Regions from separate parts of the Homo sapiens genome. Here region 1 is linked to region 2. Evidence: promoter capture Hi-C in 16 types of primary human blood cells and fetal thymus (Javierre and others, 2016). All regions are on one chromosome and are shown on one strand. The core of a region is centred on a gene start or on the middle of the fragment in contact, and the rest is flanking DNA. Distances in the headings are between cores, read along the strand shown.

What was found. Contacts are between HindIII fragments. The CHiCAGO score rates a contact against its expected background, and 5 or more counts as called.
Region 1: a contact is called between a fragment that was not itself captured here and the fragment with the promoter of SLITRK2 in region 2, in 1 of 17 cell types (endothelial precursors). The highest score is 5.8, in endothelial precursors.

Annotation. Positions count from the first base shown.
Region 1 is chrX:147,828,764-147,835,086 of GRCh38, forward strand. No RefSeq gene overlaps it. Among named protein-coding and RNA genes, the nearest start is that of FMR1-AS1, 80 kb to the right of the region's middle. The HindIII fragment of the contact is 2,123 bases long and covers 2,302-4,424 here.
Region 2 is chrX:145,813,417-145,819,843 of GRCh38, forward strand. SLITRK2 (SLIT and NTRK like family member 2) reads left to right here and starts at 4,413. Exons shown (of 5, transcript NM_032539.5): 1 at 4,413-4,610. The HindIII fragment of the contact is 7,249 bases long and covers 2,122-6,427 here.

The DNA of each region.
Region 1 (6,323 bases), core at 2,113-4,612, 2.0 Mb after region 2:
TCAGCCTCTGATCAAGCCCAGCAGGCCCATGCTCACCTGGAACCTGCGCTGGCCTGTGAGCGCTGCGTGCAGCCCCGGCTCCCACCCACACCTCTCTCTTCACACTTCCCCGTGAGCAGAGAGAGCCAGCTCCGGCCTCGGCCAGCCCCAGAGAGGGGCCCTCGTAGGGCAGCGGTGGGCTGAAGGGCTCCTCAAGCACGGCCAGAGCAGACGCCAAGGTCGAGGAGGCACTGAGAGCGAGCGAGGGCTGCTAGCATGTTGTCACCTCTCATCATGACCCATTGGTATGCTGTCTTCAAGAGACCCATCTCACATGCAAAGACACACATAGGCTCAAAATAAAGGGATGGAGGAAATTTTATCAAGCAGATGGAAAACAGAGAAAAGCAGGGGTTGCAATCCTAATTTCTGACAAAACAGATTTTAAACCAACAAAGTTCAAAAAAGACAAAGAAGGGCATTACATAATGGTAAAAGGTTCAATTCAACAAGAAGAGCTAATTATCTTATATATGCACCCAATATGGGAGCACCCAGGTTAATAAAGCAAGTTCTTAGAGACCTACAAAGAGCCTTAGACTCCCACACAATAATATTGGGAGACTTTAACACCTCAATGTCAATATTAGATCATTGAGACACAAAATTAACAAAGATATTTAAAACCTGAGCTCAGCTCTGAATCAAATGGAGCTGATAGGTGTCTACAGAACTCTCCACCCAAATTCAACAGAATATACATCTTCTCATTGCCACATGGCACTTACTCTAAAATTGATCACATAATCAGAAGTAAAACACTCCTCATCAAATGCAAAATAACTGAAATCCTAACAGTCTCTCAGACCACAGTGCAATCAAATTAGAACTCAAGATTAAGAAATTGACTCAAAATAACACAATTACATGGAAATTGAAAAACCTTCTCCTGAATGACACTTGGGTAAATAATAAAATTAAGCAGAAATCAAGAAATTCTTTGAGACTAATGAGAAAAAAGAGACAATGTACCAGAATCCCTGGGATGCAGCTAAAGCAGTGTTAAGAGGGAAATTTATAGTACTAAATGCCCACATCAAAAAGCTAGAAATATCTCAAGTTAACAACCTAACATCTCAACTAAAAGAACTAGAGAAGCAAGAGCAAACAAACCCCAAAGCTAGCAGAAGACAAGAATTAACTAGGATCAGAGCTGAACTGAAGGAGATAGAGACACAAAAAACCCTTCAAAATAACAACAAAACCAGGAGCTGGTTTTTTGAAAAGGTTAATAAAATAGACAGACCACTAGCTAAACGAATAAAGAAGAAAAGAGAGAAGATGCAAATAAACACAATCAGAAATGATAAGGGGGATATCACCACTGACCCCACAGAAATACGAACAGCCATCAGAGAATACTATAAACACCTCTATGCACATAAACTAGAAAATCTAGAATAAATGGATAAACTCCTGGACACATACACCCTCCCAAGACTGAAACAGGAAGAAATTGAATCCCTGAATAGACCAATAATGAGTTCTGAAATTGAGGCAGTAATAAATAGCCTATCAACCAGAAAAAGCCCAGGACCAGATGGATTCACAGCTGAATTTTACCAGAGGTACAAAGAAGAGCTGGCATCATTTATACTAAAACAAATTTTAAAAATTGTAGGGACTCCTCCCTAACTCGTTTTATGAGGCCAGCATCATCCTGATATCAAAACCTGGCAGAGGCACAGTGAAAAAAGAACACTTCAGGCCAATATCCTAGATGAACATAGATGCAAAAATCCTCAATAAAATACTGGCAAACAAAATCCAGCAGCACATCAAATAGTTTATCCACCATGATCAAGTTGGCTTCATCCCCAGGATGCAAGGTTGGTTCAACATACACAAATCAATAAATGTGATTCATCACATAAACAGATCTAAAGACAAAAACCACATGATTATATCAATAGATGCAGAAAATGCCTTTGATAAACTTCAACATCCTTTCATGTTAAAAGCTCTCAATAAACTAGGTATTGAAGGAACATACCTCAAAATAAAGAGGGCCATATATGACAACCCACAGCCAACAGCACACTGAATGGGCAAAAGCTGGAAGCATTCCCTTCGAAAACCAGCACAAGACAAGAATGCCCTCTCTCACCATTCCTATTCAACCTAGTATTGGGAGTTCTGGCCAGGGCAATCAGGCAATAGAAAGAAATAAAGCATATTCAAATAGGAAGAGAGGAAGTCAAACTATCTTTTTTGCAGATGACATGATGCTATATCTAGAAAACTCCATTGTCTCAGCCCAAAAGCTTCTTAAGCTGATAAGCAACTTCAGCAAGTTACAGGATATAAAATCAATGTACAAAAACAGCTAGCATTCTTATACACCAACAACAGGCAAGCAGCGAGCCAAATCATGAATGAACTTCATATATGAAACATATATGAAAACATACGTGTATGAAACATATATGAAAAACATACGTGCATGAAACATATATGAAAACATATGTGTATGAAGCATATATGAAAACATACATGTATGAAACATATATGAAAACATACGTGTGTGGAACATATATGAAAAACACGTGTATGAAACATATGAAACACATACACGTATGAAACATATATTAAAAACATACGTGTATGAAACATATATGAAAAACATACGTGTATGAAACATGAAAAACATACGTGTATGAAACATATGAAAAACATACATGTATGAAACATATATGAAAAACATATATAAAAAACAATATATGAAAAAAGCTCGACATCACTGATCATTAGAGAAATGCAAATCAAAACCACACTGAGATACCATCTCACACCAGTCATAATGGCTATTTTTAAAAAAGTCAAAAAACAACAAACACAGATGCTGGCAAGGTTGTGGAGAAAAAGGAACACTTTTACATTGTTGGTGGGAGTGTGAATTAGTTCAACTATTGTGAAAGACAGTGTGATGATTCCTCAAAGACCTAGAGGCAGAAATACCATTTGACCCAGCAATCCCATTACTGGATATACACCCTAAGGAATATAAATCATTCTATTATAAAGATACATGCAAACGTGTTCATTGCAGCACTGTTCACAATAGCAAAGACATGGAATCAACCTAAATGTCCATAAATGGTAGACTGGATAAAGAAAATGTGGTTATGCAGCCATAAAAAAGGAATGAGATGATGTCCTTTGCAGGGACATGGGTCAAGTTGGAAGCCATTATCCTCAGCAAACTAACGCAGGAACAGAAAACCAAACACCACGTGTTCTCACTTATAAGTGGGAGCTGAACAACGTGAACACATGGACACAGGGAGGGGAACAACACACAATGGGACCTGTTGGTGGGTGGGTAGGGGAGGGAGACCATTAGGAAAAATACCTAATGCGTGCAGGGCTTAATACCTAGGTGATGGATTGATAGGTGGAGCAAACCACCATGGCACACGTTTACCTTTGTAACAAACCTGCACATCCTGCACCAGTACCCCAGAACTTAAAATTTAAAAAGTAACCTGAACCTTAAGCAGATAGTAGAGGAAACCAAGAAACAACATGACTTGTACTGAAGAGTCTCCTTAAATCCCAGGAACTGACTGTACCAAGTACCTCTGGAAAGAGGGGGGAAGAAGAGGTTGAAAACAGCAGTGCTTGAAAGTCTGAACATCTGGAGTCTCAGATGTATACTCCTTTGATCCCTGGCTGTGTGGTTGACTACTGTTCCCCAAACTCATCAGAGGACCAAAGGTATAGCCTGTGTAGAAGATAAAACATATGTCTGGACTAGAGAATATGAAGCATAGATGAAGGTGGAGATACCATATCGAAAACTGGGATTAAGTAAAATTCTCTGAGCACTGACTATTGACACCTTAAACCTTCTTCATCAACTGGGATCCCAAAACACTAGATTGTACATTCCAGGCAGGAGATGGGAGGATGTCTCTCTGCAGGATATTACTAGCACAAGAAGAAAAATCTAAAAACACTGAGTCTAAAGGTACTGACAATCAGGGGTTCCCCAATGAAACAGTGCAACTATACCATTGGCAGTGAACCCTACAGCCCAAAAACCCTACCCACATGCTCAACGTTGCTAGTAATCTTTTTAGTATCTCCCTCATAACTATGAATGGACACCTAAAGATCACAGACATCTGGAGAAACTCTGACATGAGAGAAATCAAAACAAGCAAACAGAGGTGAATAACCTGAAAAAGAGAGTGATGATTCAGGAAGATGACAACTTCAAAAACAAAAACAAAAAAATCATACACATTAATGTGCCCAGCATCACAATAATGGAAACACTGAATATTGTTCTAACCAATGCGTAGTGAGGAGAGAGAAAAGAAGAAACAGGAAGTGTGATTGTTTGGGGAGTACAGGCAGTGGTTGCATAGAGTGAATTAGAAAGCTTTTCATTTTTGTTATATGACTAGCACAATTTGCATAGCATTACAATGATATGTCTATTGTAGATTTGATGGAACTCTACTGTAAAATCATCTGAGTCAGATACATGGTAAGGGTAAAATTTTTGAATATCTTTTCCTATTCTTATATTGTTATTTTCCTATTCAAACTTTCTACTATTTCTTCAGGTATTTTCTGTAATCATGAGTTTAAATGTAGGGTATAAAATTGTACATATAGAATTCTTCTTACAAATTTTAAAATATGCTCCATATATTTAATTCTGCTTTCTCATTCTTAACTTTACTTGGGTGTTTGCTCTTTTTTTCATAATCACACTTGTCAAGTTTTTTTTTCTTGTTCTTTCCAAAACCAAATTTCAGTTTTGTTGATTTATTTAATGTATTGTTGGCTTGTCTTACTGTTTTCTATAGCATTATCTGTATCAGCTCTTTCTGATTTCTTTGGGCATATTTTTTCTATTAATTTTCTAGTTTGTTGAATTAAGCACTTAATTTTTTCCCAATATTTACTGTTTTGTAATACATATGTTTAAAGCTGTACCTTGTCCTCTGAGTACATCTTTGAAGCATTTCATGGGTTTGAATATATACTACAATAACTGTTTTTCATTTTTAAATAAGTTATAATTTGAGTTTTTATTTCTTTTTTTTTAAATCCAAGAGTTATTTAGAAGGGTGTCATTTCACTCCCTGATTGTGATGGATAGGACAACCTCCTCCCCCAATCTCCCTGCAAAGATGTCCATGTCTTAATCCCTAGAAACTGTTACATTACATGGCAAAAGGGTCTTTGCAGATGTGATTGTCAACTATCTTAAGATAGGGAGGGCCCAATATAATCTCAAGAGTCCTTAAAAGATGAAAGAGAAAGGCAGCAGAGTCAGAGAAAGAGATAAGGCAATACAGAGTGATGAGGGTAACCTCTAGAAACTGGAAAAGACAAAAAAAGAATTTTCCCCTAGAGCCTCCAGAAAAAACAGAGATCTGTTGACACTTGATTTTAGCCTCATAAGATCTACTTCTGATTTCTGATCTCCAAATAATACATTTACGTTGTTTTAAATCACTAAGTGTGGGGCAATTTCTTACAGCTATAATAAGAAACTAATATATAGATTAATTTTATTACTGTCTTTTTATTAAATTTTTGATTTTGCTTCTGTGTTAAGAGAAAATGACTTGCTTAACTTCTGCTTTGGAGAATGTGTTCTTTTCCTTTGTGGCCATATTCATTATCAATCTTTGTAAATCTTTTCCTGAAAAAGATGTGAAGTCCTTCTTTGATGGATGTATGTGTGGATATGTATTATAGATATAGATATACATATAAATATAGATATGTATATAATATATATCTTAGTTGACAAGATACATATATATTCTCTTGAAAGATAATAGATTGTACTAATATACTAATATAAGATAGATCTCTATGTCTCATTTAATTGTTATATATATATATATATACCACATTTAGCATTTGGCCTTAAGTTATATCTAGTATTGATATGTGCTTTTTTAAAACATGCATTTGCCTGGTGTTTATTTCCCTATCTCTTTATTTTCAAATTCTCTGTGTCATTTAATTCATTTGGCTTATTTCTAGTATATTTCTTTATGGTATATAAAGAAATTATACCATACCATATTGTTAGAAGGGGAGTTGTGTTTAACTCTATTTAAATGTCTGTCTTTTTCTTTGAATCAGGGAATTTAACCCATACATATTTATATGATTAATGATGCTCTATTTTATGTCTTATATTTACCTTTCTTTCCTTATTTTTTTCTTTTCCACTTCTATTCCCATTCTTTTCCTTACCTTCCCCTCCCTTTTACTTTCTTGCACTTTGTTGGCTTTTTCTTTTTTGCCCC
Region 2 (6,427 bases), core at 3,163-5,662:
GCAATGTCAAACCTAATAAATTTGGCTTCCTCCTGAACACATTAGGTTGTAACTCCAAACCAAAATATGACTTCCAGCTGCAGCAAAATTCATAAGATAGAATGTGTCAGGATAGATGAAATACCTACTAATGCTGTCCTGAGCCTTATCTGTTAAATTTGTGGCTTTTGCCATGTATATGTGCTCCCAAGTCTAGTAAGCTTAAATGTGGTTCTTACTGATAAATCACTGGACTCAGTCAAAAAAGAGGGAGAGCCAGAGCCCTTAGAGAACAGGTATCATTAATAAGTGGCACTTGGTGTAATTGATGGGGGCACCATAAGTCTTTCTATAACTTTGTAAGACATGCAGTTGTCTTTTCCTTCTATTTCTGTACTTCCCCTCTTGATCTACTGCCTCTTTTCTCCTTTCTATCCCATTTTCCTTCCTTTCCTGCCCATTCCAGCGTGGCAGTGTTATTCAAACTGTAAGAGGCAATCTACAGTCACTCCTGAGTTCAGTTTAGTGGGCCACAGCCAAGCATTTAAAAAATCGACTACAATAGAATAATATTTCATTATATATTGTTATATTACTTATTACATTTATATAATTACACGTATGTATATATAGTATACATATGCACATTACACACACACACAAAAGCCAGTGACGCTGCTAATCCTTCTACATTGCATAGGGCAGCCCCCACAACAAATAATCATTTGACCAAATATATCAACAGTGTTGAGTTTGAGCCCTGATGTATACATATATGTAACTATTTGAAAACATCTGTAAAATGAAAGATGGAATTTTTTTGAAGTTATTTTAAATGTTTGACATTACATGGCTCCAACTAGAATCATAAATATTTTTTCTAATGCTAATTCTGTTATCCAACTTAAATTAAGATGTTGGTTTCTGACTAAAATCAACCATTTCACCAAGAATGGGAGTAAGGGTAAGTTACTTAAATTTTCTGAGTCTCACTTTCCTCTTTTGTAAAGTCTGGCTAATCATACTGGCCTGTTGAGGATTGTCATGAGAAACATAGAAAACAGATATAAAATATTTTGTATAACTTATTTATTTTAAGAAGTGAGTTAAAAATTTTTTTAGTTTAAGATTTATTTGCACATACATGTACCACCGTTCAATTTTCAAGAGTTCTGTATACATCCCATCCTTACTGACTCCACATAGCAGGTGCCAGTTTTACACATGGGGAACTGAAATTGGTGTAATGCTGTTTTTGTCCCATTGTGAGAAAGTAGCACGGGTGGAATTTGAACCCAGGTCATTGGGCTCCAAGGGCTTGGATATGTATTTGATTAAAAGAAAAACTGCCCTGGGTCTTGGCCCAGCACTATTTCAATCAGGCCAAAATGCCTGCCAAATAATCCAAATAATTGAATTGAATTGAAAAATATCCACCTTTTCAATAACATCAGGAACAAAAGTCTACAATATCCTGTAAACTATAATTACTAATATTAAGGGCATGTCCGCTTTGTTGCGTTTCTTTATTTAGGAATTTGTTCTGTGGCACTCTTCTTTGAAACCTTTGGTTGGAAAGAAACTATGTTCACTGAAAATGCAGCACATTTTGTCTTCTTTTATATGTTTTAAAGCTTTCTAGTTCTGGATAGGTGTGAAGAAGTTGAAAAAGCAACATTCTCAGGTAAATTACGTACTACACAGTAATAGGACATCCTTTACATCATCCTGGAAACATATGCGCTTTTTATCTCACTCATCGCAGGTGAAATTTCTGGTTTTCTTCTAACCTTAGAATGAAATTATAAAAACCCAGGCAAGATTTAGTTTTATTTCTCTGTTTTTCCACTAGTTTTCCAATCGGGATCTCTATGTTGTTTAGTAACACGAACTTCACAATAGAAAGTAGCTTACAGTAAACCAAACCCCCACCACATGCAATTTACCTATATAACAAACTTGCACACGTACACCTGAACCTAAAATAAAAGTTTTTCAAAAAGAAAACAGCACATGGATATAAAGATACATTTACAGTGCTAGTATAAAGAAGAATAATGTGATTTTTATTAATGAACAGAAGTACATTAATATGGTGTCTCTAGTATTCAATTCTATTTGGAAATTTTCCTCTAACACAGAAGCTTTTAGAAAATTCAGCATAAAGCAGCTTTCAAATAAATTGGCATATTTAAATTTTTCACAGACTTCAAACTCTCCTCCATTATAACTGTCTATGCAAAACCCTCTCAGAAAGTTTTATATTGCTCATCAATTTTCGTGTCTGTGCATTCAAAGCACAGCTATCCACCTACTTGAAAATTTTATGCTGACAAAAAGAAAAGTCTGCTCTTTTTAATTTTGTCTTACTATCAGTGTGGTCCCATGTGGAAAGGCAGGCTGCTAAATGCTTTTCGAAGGCTGGTGAACAGGTTAGACTTGCTTACAAGGCTAATTAAAATTGATGCATGCCATCTATTACATGTTACTACTGGATCTAAATAAAGTATCACTTTTCATCATTAATGCCATGTTCCTTCTCTACTCTGTATAGAAGTTTTTGCTTATTTTGTATGTTCCCTTTGGCTACAGACACATCACCCTTCTTAGTAAACTGTCTGAGTTTTTCAGCATGACTGTCTCATTATTTCTGTATTGGAATGGCCTCTTAGCTCTGTGTTTTGCAGTTGTTTATAACATCTACTAAAAGCGACATGAAAAGATGACACAGTCAGAAATACGGTAAAGACAGAAGTAACAGTATTAACTGACCTCATTTAGTTAATAATATGATGTGCTCAGTGCACTGCTTTTAGTCTGTAGCAAACAGCACATTGGATGTTTACACTAATACAGATATTGTAAAAAGAAGAGCAATGCTTCTGGATATATAACCGTACATACACTGCCCACGTGCTTATGTGAGAACTATGTTATTCCGAAGTTGCTTATCTGAATGGTAGGAAGATTTCAAAAAGGCTTTCTCAAGAATGAAATAAAAGGAACAGTAATGACCCTTACAACTCCGAAGATACGATTATAATTCTTCCGACTATTATTAAAGCAAACTCTGTACATCTTCATAATATAAGATTGCCAGTAGTTTTCTTTTTAAAAAGCCCAGCATAATCTCCTTAGAAAACCATTATGAAAGAAAGCCAAGAAGAGAGGACAGGAGAAGCACAAAAGATTCCCACGGGAAGGACAAGAAAAAGGTGGTTGTCAGTGCTGTGAGAACGAGTTGAAAGGCATGGGAAATATGGAAACAGACAAATTCCAATGCAGATCCACTAGCTGGAGAGGTAATTTTGCGTCTAATTTTGCACCTCTCTCCTCGCCTCCCCGTCTGCTCTCCACCATCACGCTTTTCGACAGTAAGAAGGATTTGGGGTTTTGCAGACTCTAGCGGGCATGAAAAGGATAGGGGGTGGCAACGACTTGAATTAATGACGTTCTCCTACAGGATGGAGGGGAAAATGACTTAGTGTCATCAAATGAACTCCCTACTCCTGGCATAAATTTATCAAACTGCAACTTTATCTCGAATACTCTGGAAGAGTAGAGGAGAGGCCCTAGAGAAAGCAAGTCTTGAGGGGAAACGCAATGCTCTTGGCAAAAACCGCACCTCCCTCTTGAACTACACTGACTCTTTTCACAGAGCGCCTTCCTTTAATAGAATCACAACCACCTGGACTACTAATAAGAGGAAGAAGAAAGGAGAAAAGGGAAGGGAGGATGGCAAAAATCACGCTCTAGAAGATCCAGGCAACGTCGTCGTGAAGAATAAAGGGAATCAAAATGGGCACTGGAACGCTGCTAAGGGCTTGCTTTGTTAACACACTTGCACAACTCAAGTTCAGCTCTATCTTATGTTGAAAGTCCTTGTTTACGATCCTCGTAGGAGGTTCTTAAATATCTGCCTGCGAACTCCCAAAGACTGGGCGCTTACTAGTTAGGGGAGGCAGCTGTCCCGGAGGGTGTCCAGCTCGGATGGCTGACTGCTCTTTCACTTGTCGTTAACTTCCACCCAGTAGTCTTAGTCTCCCCTTGGACATGGTACCGACCGTGTGCCATTCTTATTTCACTTGACCGAGCCCGAGCTGCAGCCCAGGGTGGAAGCCGCAAGGGCTGGGCAGAGTTCCAGGCAAGAGGGACCGAGAGGCGTGAGCAGTGCTCCGCAGCGCTTGTCAGAGAAATGGAGCAGCGGCTCCTTTGTGGGCTCTTACATCCCCGTCCTGGGTGCACAGCCCGGATATTTGATCTGTGGGGTGATTGATAAGTGAGGGAGAGGGGGGACGCGATCCCTCCCTCCCTCCTCCCTCCCTCCTCCCTCCTCACTCCCTCCTCCCTCCTCCCTCCCTCCTCCCTCCTCCCTCCCTTCTTCCCCTCTCCTCCCTCCCGCTTTACTTCCCTCCTCCCTCTCGCCTCCCTCCCTCCTTCCTGCAAGAAGCGTTGCCCGTTGGCTAGCTGCTCGGTGGGGATCTGCCTGCCCTGGGGGCGCCGCCCGCGCTCCCCGCGGTGCTCTCGCTCCTGGGCTGCGCCAGTCCGAGGCGGTGCCGGCTCCTTTGCCTCCCCGAGTCGCAGATGCTGCGGGCGCCTCCGGGAAAAGATCTGGGCGGCGCGCTCGCTCGGTAAGTTCTGAGCACTCAGGGACGCGGTGGCGACGCGGCCAGTGAGCCGGCTTTCCTCAGTCCGTTGCCTTTCCCGGCCACCTCTCCTTGCGAGGGGCACCAGCGTGGGGAGGCTGGGCGCCATCCGCGGAGGGCAGCTCGCTGGCGGCCGCCCTCTACCCTCAATCCCCACTGGAGATTCCTCACCCCGGGACCGTCCGCGCGGGCGTGGTCGGGCTCCGCGCCTCGCGCAGCGGGGTGGCACAGGCGGCCAGGGAGGGCCCACGCACCCGGCGCGAGCTAGAAGCCTCCGGTCGGCCTGCAGTGCCCAAGTCCCATGGCGAGGGCAGCCCGAGTGGCCGTCGCGGCTGTAGGTCCGCATGCCGGGCACCGCACCAGGCGTCTAGCAGGTAGGGGCAGGGAAGGTAGGGCTGCGCTGGCGGCCGGTGCCCAGTTACCGGCGATCGGGGACGCTCGGAGACACCTGGTCTCCCGGAAGCGCCCTTCGGAAATGGGATTCGACCCGGCTTGCGGGCGGCGGGTGTTTAGAAGAAGAGGCTGCGGGCAAGCAGTGCCCCCTCTCTGGTTCCCCGGACTCCTCTTAGCCCCCTCGTGGCCTGATGGGCGGCCGGGACGGAGGTGGGCTGTAAGCCCGCCGGCACCCACCGTGTCCTGTGGAAGGCTTGGAGACCTGAGCCAGGCTCTACTCGGTTAGATGCGAGTGAGACAGGCGACGGAGTTCGTCTTTAAGCCTCCCTTGCCTCAGCAAGGAGAGGGAGCGTTTTCCTTATTTTAATGACCGCCTTTCCCTCCCTTGGGGTCCCAGTTCACCCTGAACCTTTCCACAGCCTTAAAAGCCCGCTCTCCCTAGCGGAGTGCTGCGGCAGTTCTTCAGAAGACACGGGGCCAAATGAAACTTACTTAAAGTGGTTATCGCGTTTCAGGCTGATTTGTTCCTAGTAACTACGTTTTGGAAAGCAGCTGTGGACTCTCAAGGACAGGCAGGAACGAAGACCTCCTTAGGGTCCGAGTGTCGCTTCCCACAGTTAGATTACCCATGAATTTCCTTGATTCTGTAGGTCTCAAGAATCTCATGAGCCCCCAACCACCTCCACCTTTCTCTCTGAATCTCTCTCCTGTCTCTGAAATTCTTCGCAAAAATAATCTGTCCTCAAGGAATATTGAAAGCGTCATCAATGTCTTGAAGGAAATTACTGTATCTGAGAACCGAAACTAGTATTTGATGTTTCACTTTCAAATACATTTTTTTTTAATAAAAAGGATACCTTTAAGTAAAACACTACCACTGCTATTTACGTTTAAGTAGATTTTTAATTCATATTAAGCAGTAGTGTGCTTTTTGGAAAGATGATGGACTGGGACTCATAATCCCTGGGTTTTGTTTCTATTTGTAGTTTCTTGAGTAAGTCAGCACTTTCCCTGGTTAAGAAATGACCTCATCTGTAAAATGAACCTGACTTCTAAGGTCTTGTTCGGCTCTCACGTCTTTACTTCAGTTAAATATTGACATAATACATGTTTGTTGAATGAATGACTGAATGAATAAATCTTATTGCTCTAGGAACTATGTGCTTTTAACCTTTGGAAATACATAGAAACAAATGCCTCCTTTGCTAGGAAAGGGAGCTTAATTGTGCTCCCACTGCATCAGACTGCTTCCATCTAATGATGCAATTGCAATACAGGGTGGGAGGCCATCCACAGGGCTGTCCCTCTGCCTCAGAGCTCATCTCAAGTTTGCCCTTCTCTATGGAGAAGGAAAATTTGAGTCTCCAGAAGGAAAGTATTTTGCTAAACGCCAAGCAAGAATTAGAGGG